Linked DNA regions of Homo sapiens: region 1 is linked to region 2. Evidence: promoter capture Hi-C in 16 types of primary human blood cells and fetal thymus (Javierre and others, 2016). All regions are on one chromosome and are shown on one strand. The core of a region is centred on a gene start or on the middle of the fragment in contact, and the rest is flanking DNA. Distances in the headings are between cores, read along the strand shown.

What was found. The method cuts DNA at HindIII sites, captures the fragments that hold promoters and counts their contacts. A CHiCAGO score of 5 or more calls a contact.
Region 1: a fragment that was not itself captured here is called in contact with the fragment with the promoter of CMC2 in region 2 in 1 of 17 cell types (non-activated CD4 T cells); the score reaches 6.1 in non-activated CD4 T cells.

The regions. Positions count from the first base shown.
Region 1 is chr16:77,723,935-77,728,363 of GRCh38, forward strand. It overlaps NUDT7 (nudix hydrolase 7), which reads left to right. Exons shown (of 4, transcript NM_001105663.3): 2 at 1,497-1,650. Among named protein-coding and RNA genes, the nearest start is that of NUDT7, 3.6 kb to the left of the region's middle. The HindIII fragment of the contact is 377 bases long and covers 1,063-1,439 here.
Region 2 is chr16:81,003,200-81,008,171 of GRCh38, forward strand. CMC2 (C-X9-C motif containing 2) reads right to left here and starts at 3,686. Exons shown (of 4, transcript NM_020188.5): 1 at 3,535-3,686. CENPN (centromere protein N) reads left to right here and starts at 4,015. Exons shown (of 11, transcript NM_001100624.3): 1 at 4,015-4,078. RefSeq lists enhancers at 1,011-1,100, 3,964-4,073, 4,384-4,523 and a silencer at 3,424-3,793. The HindIII fragment of the contact is 14,741 bases long and covers 1-4,972 here.

The DNA.
Region 1 (4,429 bases), core at 1-2,500, 3.3 Mb before region 2:
GATTCTGCCCACTATGCAAAGCTGCCTTCCCACAGAAAAAGTAAAATCAGCTGTTCCTTTTCTAGGGCTGCCATAACAGAGTACCACACACTGGGTGTTTTAAAACAATAGAAATGGTCTCTCATGGCTATGAAGCCTGGAAGTCCAAAATCAAGGTATCGGCAGGGCCTCACTCCCTTAGAAGGCTCTGGGGGTGACCTTTCCTTGCCTCTTCCAGTTTCTGGTGGTTTCTGGCATTCCTTGGCTCACAGCAGCATCACTTCAACCTCTGCCGCCATCTTCACATGGTCTTCTTCCCTGTGTGCATCTCTCCATGTTTTTTCTTCTTTTATTTTATTTTATTTTTGAGTCAGGTCTCACTCTGTCACCCAGGCCGGAGTGCAGTGGTGCAATCATGGCTCACTGCAGCCTTGAACTCTGGGGCTCAAGTGATCCTCCCACTTCCGCCTTCCAAGTAGCTGGGAATACAGTTGCATGCCCCATGCCTAAGCTAATTTATGCTTTTTTTTTTTTTCTTTTGTAGAGACAGGGTCTTACCATGTTGACCAGGCTGGTTTCAAACTCCTGGGCCCAAGCAATTCTCCCGCCTCAACCTCCCAGTGTTGGGATTACAGGCGTGAGCCGCTGCACTGGGCTCGTTTCTGCTTCTTATCAGGACAACAGTCATTGGATTTAGAGCTCACTTTAATTACATCTGAAAAGATCCTATTTCTGAATAAAGTCACACTCTGAAGTTTGGGGTAGACATGAATTTCAGGGGTGAGGGGATACTGTTCAACCCACTATACAAACTAGCAGTAGAACACACCTGTCAAAAGGACCAAAACAAGTCCACATAGGAAGGGCACCATTTGCGGTTTTAAATCCAAATGCTTGCATATTATTGGGAAATTGTTCTCAGAATGTGTTCCCCTGTCCACAGCGTCAGTAACGCTGTCATGAGGGAGTTTGATACAAATGCTAATTCTCAGGCCCTACACCAGAGTTACTGAGTCACAGTCTGGGACTGAACCTCGCAGTCTATGTGACAGCCAGCGCTCCAGGTGATTCTGTTGCTGCTAAAGCTTGGGAACCACTATTATAAGCAGTTGAAGACATAAGAGTTTGAGAACATAAGGGCCAGCTTAACAGAAGGTAGTCTTCTAACCTTCTAACCTTAACAATGACTTTTTCATCAAACCTGTCTTCTCTGAATATAATTATGGGTTTCAAAATTCAACTGTTGCATTATTGAAAAAACATTTTACCATACTTTATGTTTCAAAGAGAACCTGTGTACTAAACTGTGTGCTTAGAAGGTTTTTTTGTCATTTTCATCTTGCGAACAACCACGCAATTTAGATAGTATCATTTCTGTCGTGTTATTGAAAAATACACAGAGAGTCAGAAATGGCAAACTCCTAAATACACAACAAAGCAGAAACAGAGGCAGGACTATAAGCTTTTTACCATAACTCTGCTTGCTAAAATGTCTGTCTGGTTTGTTTTTATTTTAGAAACAGTTTGCTAGATGATGCTAAGGCCCGCTTAAGAAAGTATGATATTGGAGGCAAATATTCTCACTTGCCATATAACAAATACTCCGTCCTTTTGCCATTGGTGGCTAAAGAAGGAAAACTCCATTTGTTGTTCACCGTCCGGTCAGAGAAGGTAGGTGGACAAAAAATTTCCTGCCCTTAAACCTCAGGACATCAGAAGACCTCACGAGATTTTGTCACTTGCACACACTTTGATGCCAAAATTCTCAAAAGGGCTTTCAAAATTGTGATGTCAGAGGCATACAACCACAAGCCACAGGATAACATGGTGTTTCTTGGAGAAGGTTTAACAAGAAAATGAAGGAATTTAGCTAGCAAGCAGTTTAAAACGCTTTCACACTAGGGTTACCTAACCTTGGTGCTATTGGCATTTGGGGCTGAATAATTCTTTGGTGTGGAGGCTGTCCTGTATAATGTGGTGTGTTTACCATCATCCTTGGCCTCTACCCACCAGATGCCAGTAGCACACACAAACACAAGCTCACACACACCTTTGTCCCTTTGTCCAGTATGCCAGTAGCACACACACCACAAATGTCTTCAGAATTGCCTACTATCCTGGCAGGATTGGGGGTGCCAAATTGCCCCCCACCAAGGGCCACTGTTTTAGACTATCCCACCCCCAGTATAATGTGAAAATACTAGAGCATAGAAGTTAACGGCCTAGGCTCTAAAGCTAGCTGTCCACGTTGAATCCAGGCTCTCTCCTTGCCAGCTGTGACTTTGGCCTCGTTACTTGCCCTCTCTGTACTTCAGTCTTTTCACTTGTAAAATGAGGACAAAATATTAGTAACTGCTTCATACAGCTGCTATGAACATTTCACAGGGTAACAAATGTAAAGCACCTATATAACCCAGGTACTTGGCAAGGAAGAATTCAGTAAGTTTTAGCTGTCATCGTTAGTGTCAAGTGACCTGTCAGACATGACCTGAAGTTTTAAGATAAATGATGTCACTTTACAGAAATAATGGGCTGGGAATGGAGTTTCTGGCTCACCCCTTGTATTGGTCCATTCTTGCATTGCTATAACGAAATACCTGAGGCTGGGTATGGTGGCTCAAGCATGTAATCCCAGCACTTTGAGAGGCCAAGGTGGGAGGATCACGAGGTCAGCAGTTCGAGACAAGCCTGACCAACATAGTGAAACCCCATCTCTACTAAAAATACAAAAGAATTAGCCAGGCATGGTGGCACACACCTGTAATCCCAGCTACTCAGGAGGCTGAGGCAGGAGAAACACTTGAAACCAGGAGGCGGAGGTTGCAGTGAGCCGAGATTGTGCCACTGCGCTCCAGCCTGAGGAACAGCGAGACTCCATCTCAAAAAAAGAAAGAAAGAAAGAAAAAGAAATATCTGAGTCTGGGTAATTTATAAAGAAAAGAGGTTTCATTGAGTCATGGTTCTGCAGGCTGTACAGGAAGCATGACACAGGCATCTGCTCAGTTTCTGGAAAGGCCTCAGGGAGTGTACCATCATGGCAGAGGGGGAGCAGGAGCAAGAGAGAGAGCAGGGAAATACCACACACTTTTAAATGGCCCCGGATCTCATGAGAACTCACTCACTATCATGGGGACAGTGCCAAGATGATGGTGCTAAACCATGCGTGAGAAATCTGCCCCTGTGATCCAGTCACCTCCAACCAGACCCCACCTCCAACACTGGGGACTCCAGTTCAACATGAGATTTGGGCAAGGACAAATATCGAAACTCTACCACCCCCACACCCGTGAGCACAGTCAGTTTCCCTTGCTGTGGGGAACTTCCAAGGAAAAGCTGGTGAAGCAGTCATTTTAAGCTTATCCAAGTACAAAAAGAAAATAAGCCATATTAACAGGCTTTTTAAGCAGAATAATGAAAAGTATTTTGTTTAAAAAAAAAATGCCAAGGAATCAGCTGGAGTTTTGTGGACGTGGAAGTAGACTTGTGTGGATTGTGTTCGGTCTGAGCCAGGCAGAAATGCCGTGAACTCAGGACATGATAGAAATCCAGGTTCCAGGGGGAAATACTTAAATGGAAACCAGGGGACCAGTGTCTGTTCCCACCTCTGCCAATAAGCACAGGAGAAGCACTTACATATATTTTTTAAAATTATCAGATATGGCCGTGTGCGGTGGCTCACGCCTGTAATCCCAGCACTTTGGGAGGCTGAGGTGGGCGGATCACCTGAGGTCAGGAGTTCGAGACCAGTCTGGCCAACATGGCGAAACCCTGTCTCTACTAAAAATACAAAAAATTAGCCAGGCGTGGTGGTGGGTGCCTGTAATCCCAGCTACTGGGGAGGCTGAGGCAGGGAGAATCACTTGAACCTGGGAGGTGGAGGTTGCATTGAGCCGAGATCGTGCCACTGCACTCCAGCCTGGGCAACAGAGCAAGACTCCATCTCAATAATGAATAAATAAATAAAAATAAATAAATAAATAAAAGAGAATTGTCTAACAAACAATAATATAGGAAATCTAGACAATACTACAAACTCAACCAACGGGGTCTCTAGTTTCTTTTGTTTCACCCAGAGCCACTTTTGCCTGTTGATTATTAAGGTCACTTTTTAAAAACTATTTAAATTTAATTCAATCTGATTGTAAACACTATCTGGCTGTAGGGGTGAGAAATTCCCTCTGGAGCTCTACTGGAGCTCTGCCCCTCACACAAGCAGGGCGCTGGTAGGAGATTTCCCCCCAGTGGATGGGGAAAGCAAGGCAAGAAGTGGGTTAACCCTTCTCAAATGTGCAATCTCCCACTAGCTCTGGAACCTCGAACAAGTTTTTCTTTTTTTTCAGAAGGATTCTCGCTCTGTCGCCCAGGCTGGAGTGCAGTGGCGTGATCTCAGCTCACTGCAACCTCCGCCTCTTGGGTTCAAGCAATTCTCCCACCTCAGCCTCCCAATTAG
Region 2 (4,972 bases), core at 2,436-4,935:
AGTGCTGATGTCTTCCAGCACTCACCTTTAAAAGACTATTCTAGTAACACAATTTAACTCAAAATATATTTAACAAACTGAAGAAACGCTAAATACGTATTCCATATTCTTATTCTTAAAATTTCTTCAAAGTCATAAGAAGATATCAACGTTATTAGTTTAGAAAATAATTTGTTGAACACTTGCCAAGTGCTAAGCACAAGTCTTACAATGCAATAACCTTATGAAACGGGTAGCCTTTTAAATTCAGTTGAACCATGAGAAACTGTCTTTTTATAGGTCAAAATATGCACTGCCCACATTTTCATAGAGAAACTAAGCCCCAGGTCACACAGTAGTTAGCTGCAAAGTCACAACCCAACATAATCTCTAACCATGACAGATTTTTAATCCATGTTCAAAATAGGAAAGACAGGCATTCACAGCAGTTTGTGAATGAAATACATTCAGATGGAAAAACTATTTCCCAAAGAGCTTCTGATTGACTACAAGTTCAAAAGGTAGTCATTCTAGGCCCAAGTTCCAAAGCAGCCAACGTAATACTATCCTGTAAGTGTGGAAATAGTGAGTCTGTCAAGACACAAAAAAAGAGAAGAGTATTGTATTTGTCACTAGTCAGCTACTCACAAGTTACATCATTTTGGTTACTAATCTGAGACCTAAGTCTCTCTTCCATAAAATGGAATTTGCTCTTGACCTATATATCTCAGTGATGGCATGGGTTTAAAATAACTTATGTGAGGCTGGAAGCTGTGGCTCACGCCTGTAATCTCAGAACTTTGGCAGGCCGAGGTGGGCAGATCACTTGAGGTCAGGAGTTCGAGACCAGCCTAGCCAACATGGTGAAACCCAGTCTCTACTAAAAATACAAAAATTCGCTGGGCGTGGTGGTGGGGGCCTGTAATCCAGCTACTTGGGAGGCTGAGGCAGGGGAATCGCTTCAGCCCTGGAGGCAGAGGTTGCAGTGAGCTGAGATGGCACCACCTGCACTCTAGCCTGGTCGAAAGAGTGAGACTCCATCTCAAAAAATAATAATTATGAACATCAGCAGCATGGTGGAAACGAAAGTGAAAGGAACATAAGACCTCGTTCTTGGATGTTTCCAGTGAAATAGAGAGGGATAAATTCCATTCAAACTGTTATTATTTGAATAGAATAATATTTAATTCCAGTGCAGACCCCAAGCCAGGCTGCTCCTGGGAGCGACCCCAGGGACTGCCTGGGGAGGAAGGCTTAACTACTCTGACTTCCATCAGTTTGTCAGTCTCATCTTTACAATGGCATTTAAGAAAACATCAAAAAGGTAAACTTGTCACGATTCCACCACCTCCCTCCTCAATCCAGCCCCATCCACTGTGTATGCACACAATGATACCAAAACAGTCCACTGAAATTCCTTAAAATTTTCAGCTGTCAAATGTGTTTTGATAGCTAGCTAAGGGGCCCATAAGGGCAATTTTAACTTTTCCTGGGGAGTAAGCTGGGAGGGTAGAAGCGGTAGGGTACTCTTAGTGAAGATATAAAAATTATAGCTTTCTTTTACTCACTCCTTCAATCTTTGTCTACTGACTCTGAGGTACAATTTTCCTCAAGAGTAGTCTAAGACAGATTTCAACCACCAGGTGGCACAATTTTAGAAAATAAACCAAGAGCCAGCGCTGTATTAACTCTAGTATAAAGAAAACGGGTAAGCATTCTAATAACTCACTTCAGCAAATCTATAATCACAAGGAAGAACCCTGTATTTTAATGCCAGTTGGCTTTTCTTTAGAAAGATTTTCCTATTGTGCGGCTGCACAGGAAATTTACACTACAGTTGTAATTTCTAATGCTACTGCAAAATAAGCAAAAAACAAGGCCAGAAAAGTCTGTTGTGCAGAGTCTGAAGAAACTGTTCTCCAGAAAAAAAAACTGTAAACACTCCGCTTTCTAAAATATATCTTTTTAGGCTAGGCGCGGTGGCTCACGCCTGTAATCCCACCACTTCGGGAGGCCGAGGCAGGCAGATCACTTGAGGTCAGGACAAGCCTGGCCAACATGGTGAATCCCCGTCTCTACTAAAAATACAAAAATTAGCCAGGCGTGGCCTGTAACCCTAGCTACTCAGGAGGTTGAGGCACGAGAATCACTAGAACTCGGGAGGTGGAGGTTGCAGTGAGCCGAGATCGCGCCACTGCACTCCAGCCTGGGCGACAAAACAAGACGCCGTCTCAAAATAAAATTTAAATATATATATATATAAATAAATAACATAAAACATTTTTAAGGCCTACATTTCGGCCCTGGTATTAAAGAATTATTTTTCAACTTTTCAAGCTATGAGCCATACTGCAGCAGAGGTCGCAGACACGGTCGGGGACGGCCTCCCCTGCCCACTTCCACTTATCACAGGACCAGTTCTAAACCGATACCACTAAGAAAGCGACTGGCGCTGGCACTGTAGACCCCATGCCAGGCTGCTTCTGGGAGGGACCCGGGGGTGCTGCCTAGGGAGAAGGGCTTAACTACTCTGACTTCCACCGAAGAGTTTCTCAGAGAATGCGCCCTCGCAGCTTTCCCTGAATAAACATTACCAGGACTTACAAGGTGCCTAGCACTCTGCCAGAATCATGTGAATTTCAGAGGAAAATACTCGTTCACACATCTCAAGGAACGCACAGGCTCGTGAGGGAGCATTCTTGCCAATGCACATGGTAAATGCCCAATCGATGTTCGCGGAATGTCAGAAACTGACAACTAGTTCAGGCCTCAACGCAGTAGGAAAAGGATGAAAAAGAAACTCATTTTAAATCAACTAAACAAGTGCAAAAGCCATACATATAAAGGAGAGGAGATACGAATGGCATCACAACATAATTCCTTTGCCATCGAAAACTTCCATGCCTTTGAGGTTTTAAATGAAGACTTCCAAAACTGATTTACTTAAGACTCTACGTAAAACGCCTGATCTTTAAACGCAAGAAAAGCAAGATGAATGTATTACTTTCCTGGAAAAAAAAAGCATTAAAGGAGAAAAAAGAGTAAAGTGTACTGATGGGGCTCTTGGTGGGTTCTCACATCACAGGGCACTGCAGCTGAGACTTGCTTGAACGGCCCCCGTTTTCTACCCGCAAATTCTCAATTGCTAGATAAACAACAATAACAACACTTTATTGGGCGCTCATCGTGTCAAACCCTGTGTTGAGGGCTCCATTCCTCAAGGTCCATTTTACCGGCGAGGAAGCCCCGGCTCCGGGAGGGGAGGAGCGCGCCCAAGGTCACCAGCCAGTTGAGTGAGTGGCGGGCGGATCCCAACCCCGAGCGACGCCCACGGCCTGTCTCGGCCACCAGCGTGTTCCAGCGAGCGCCCAGCCACCTCGCTCGCAGCCTCCCCAGCGCAGCAGCCCGGCTGTGGGCCTGCGGCAGCCGGGTCTTCCTGGTCCCCACCTCCTGGGGCCGACGGGCGGCAGGAAGGGGCTCGGCGGGACGCGCCATCAGGGACCTGAGGAGGAACAACGGAACGCGTTCGGAACGGCCTGGACTCCCGAGACTCACCCGACTCGTGGCCACACCGGGAGAACTGAAGCGGCAGTAGCCGGCGGAGACGCCCGACCCGAAGGCCGGCTGCTAGGGAGCAGACAGCTGAACCGCTTGCCAGACGCCGAAACCCAGTGACGCCCTCCACCGCTCCACCGTGCTCCCGGCTCCTCGCCCCCGCCGCCCGCGGGCCCCAAGGCGCATGCGCCGCCTGTCCTGGAGGGGCCCATTTCCGTCCGTCGTGGGGGGAGGCACAGTGAGTCCACTGGGGCACGGCAGCGTCTAAGCCACAAGCCGAGCACATAAGCCAGGTCCTAACGGAGCCTATGTGTAAGTCCACTACTGGTGCAAGGTTGCACACTTCTAAGAAGAGCGGCGTGGGGGGCTCGGCGACCTTCGCTTCAGTCGCTCCCCCGTGCAGTCCCCTGTGCCCAAGACACAGCCTGATGCTTGTGCTCCGGTGGGCGGAGCTTGGAGGCGGCGGGAACTGCAATTGGTGGCTTTGAAGGCGCGGCGAGCGGGAACAGCTCTTGAGGAGTGAGACTGCAGGAGATGTGGGCCGGTAAGAGAGCCCCGGGCGGCACTGGATCGGGCCCCGGAGGGTGTGGGGCCTTGAGGAAGCCAGATCCCAGGCCTCGGGGGTGGCTTTTTCGCAATTGTCGCACGTTGTGAGGCGCAGGATTGGCGCTGGGTCTCGGGCTCGGGGCGAGGAACTACGGTTCGGGCCGAGGTGAGGGGGCGGTGGCGCTGTGCCGGCTGTGACGTCACCTCGCCCGCGGTGGGGCGGGTGGAGCCTTTCGTAGGCTCGCGACTGCGTCAGGGGAGGGCCGTGTGGTCATGTGACCAGGGGCTCCGCTCTACGATCCTGGGGTTGCTTCCTTTCCCAGAGTTGGGGTTTTGCTTTTCTGTCACCTCGGCTTCCGTCGTTTTTTGTCCCTGTACCCTCTTGCGTTGCTCCTCGCATTGCCTGTTGGAGCGCAGCAGAGGTGTGTGGCTACGGGAACGTTACTTAAAATGGATCTTTTTGATCATGCGTTCCACAGATCTTGAGCATCTACTGTATGTCAGACACTAAAACGCTAGGAAGTATAAAGAAAGTTTTAAAATGGGGCCAGGCGCGGTAGTTTACGCCTGTAATCCCAACACTTTGGGAGACCGACGTGGGCGGATCACCTTAGGTCAGGAGTTCGAGACCAGCCTGGCCAACATGGTGAAACCCCGTCTCTACTAAAAATACAAAAATTAACCGGACGTGGTATCGGGTGCCTGTAATCCCAGCTATTTGGGAGGCTGAGGCAGGAGAAGCGCATGAACCCGGGAGGCGGAGGTTGCAGTGACCCGAGATCGCGCCACTGCACTGCACCCTGGGCGACAAAGCGAGACTGTGTCTCCGAAACAACAAAAAAAGGAAAGTTTAAAAATGGTCACGGGGTAAACGTTTACTAAAGGGATTTCC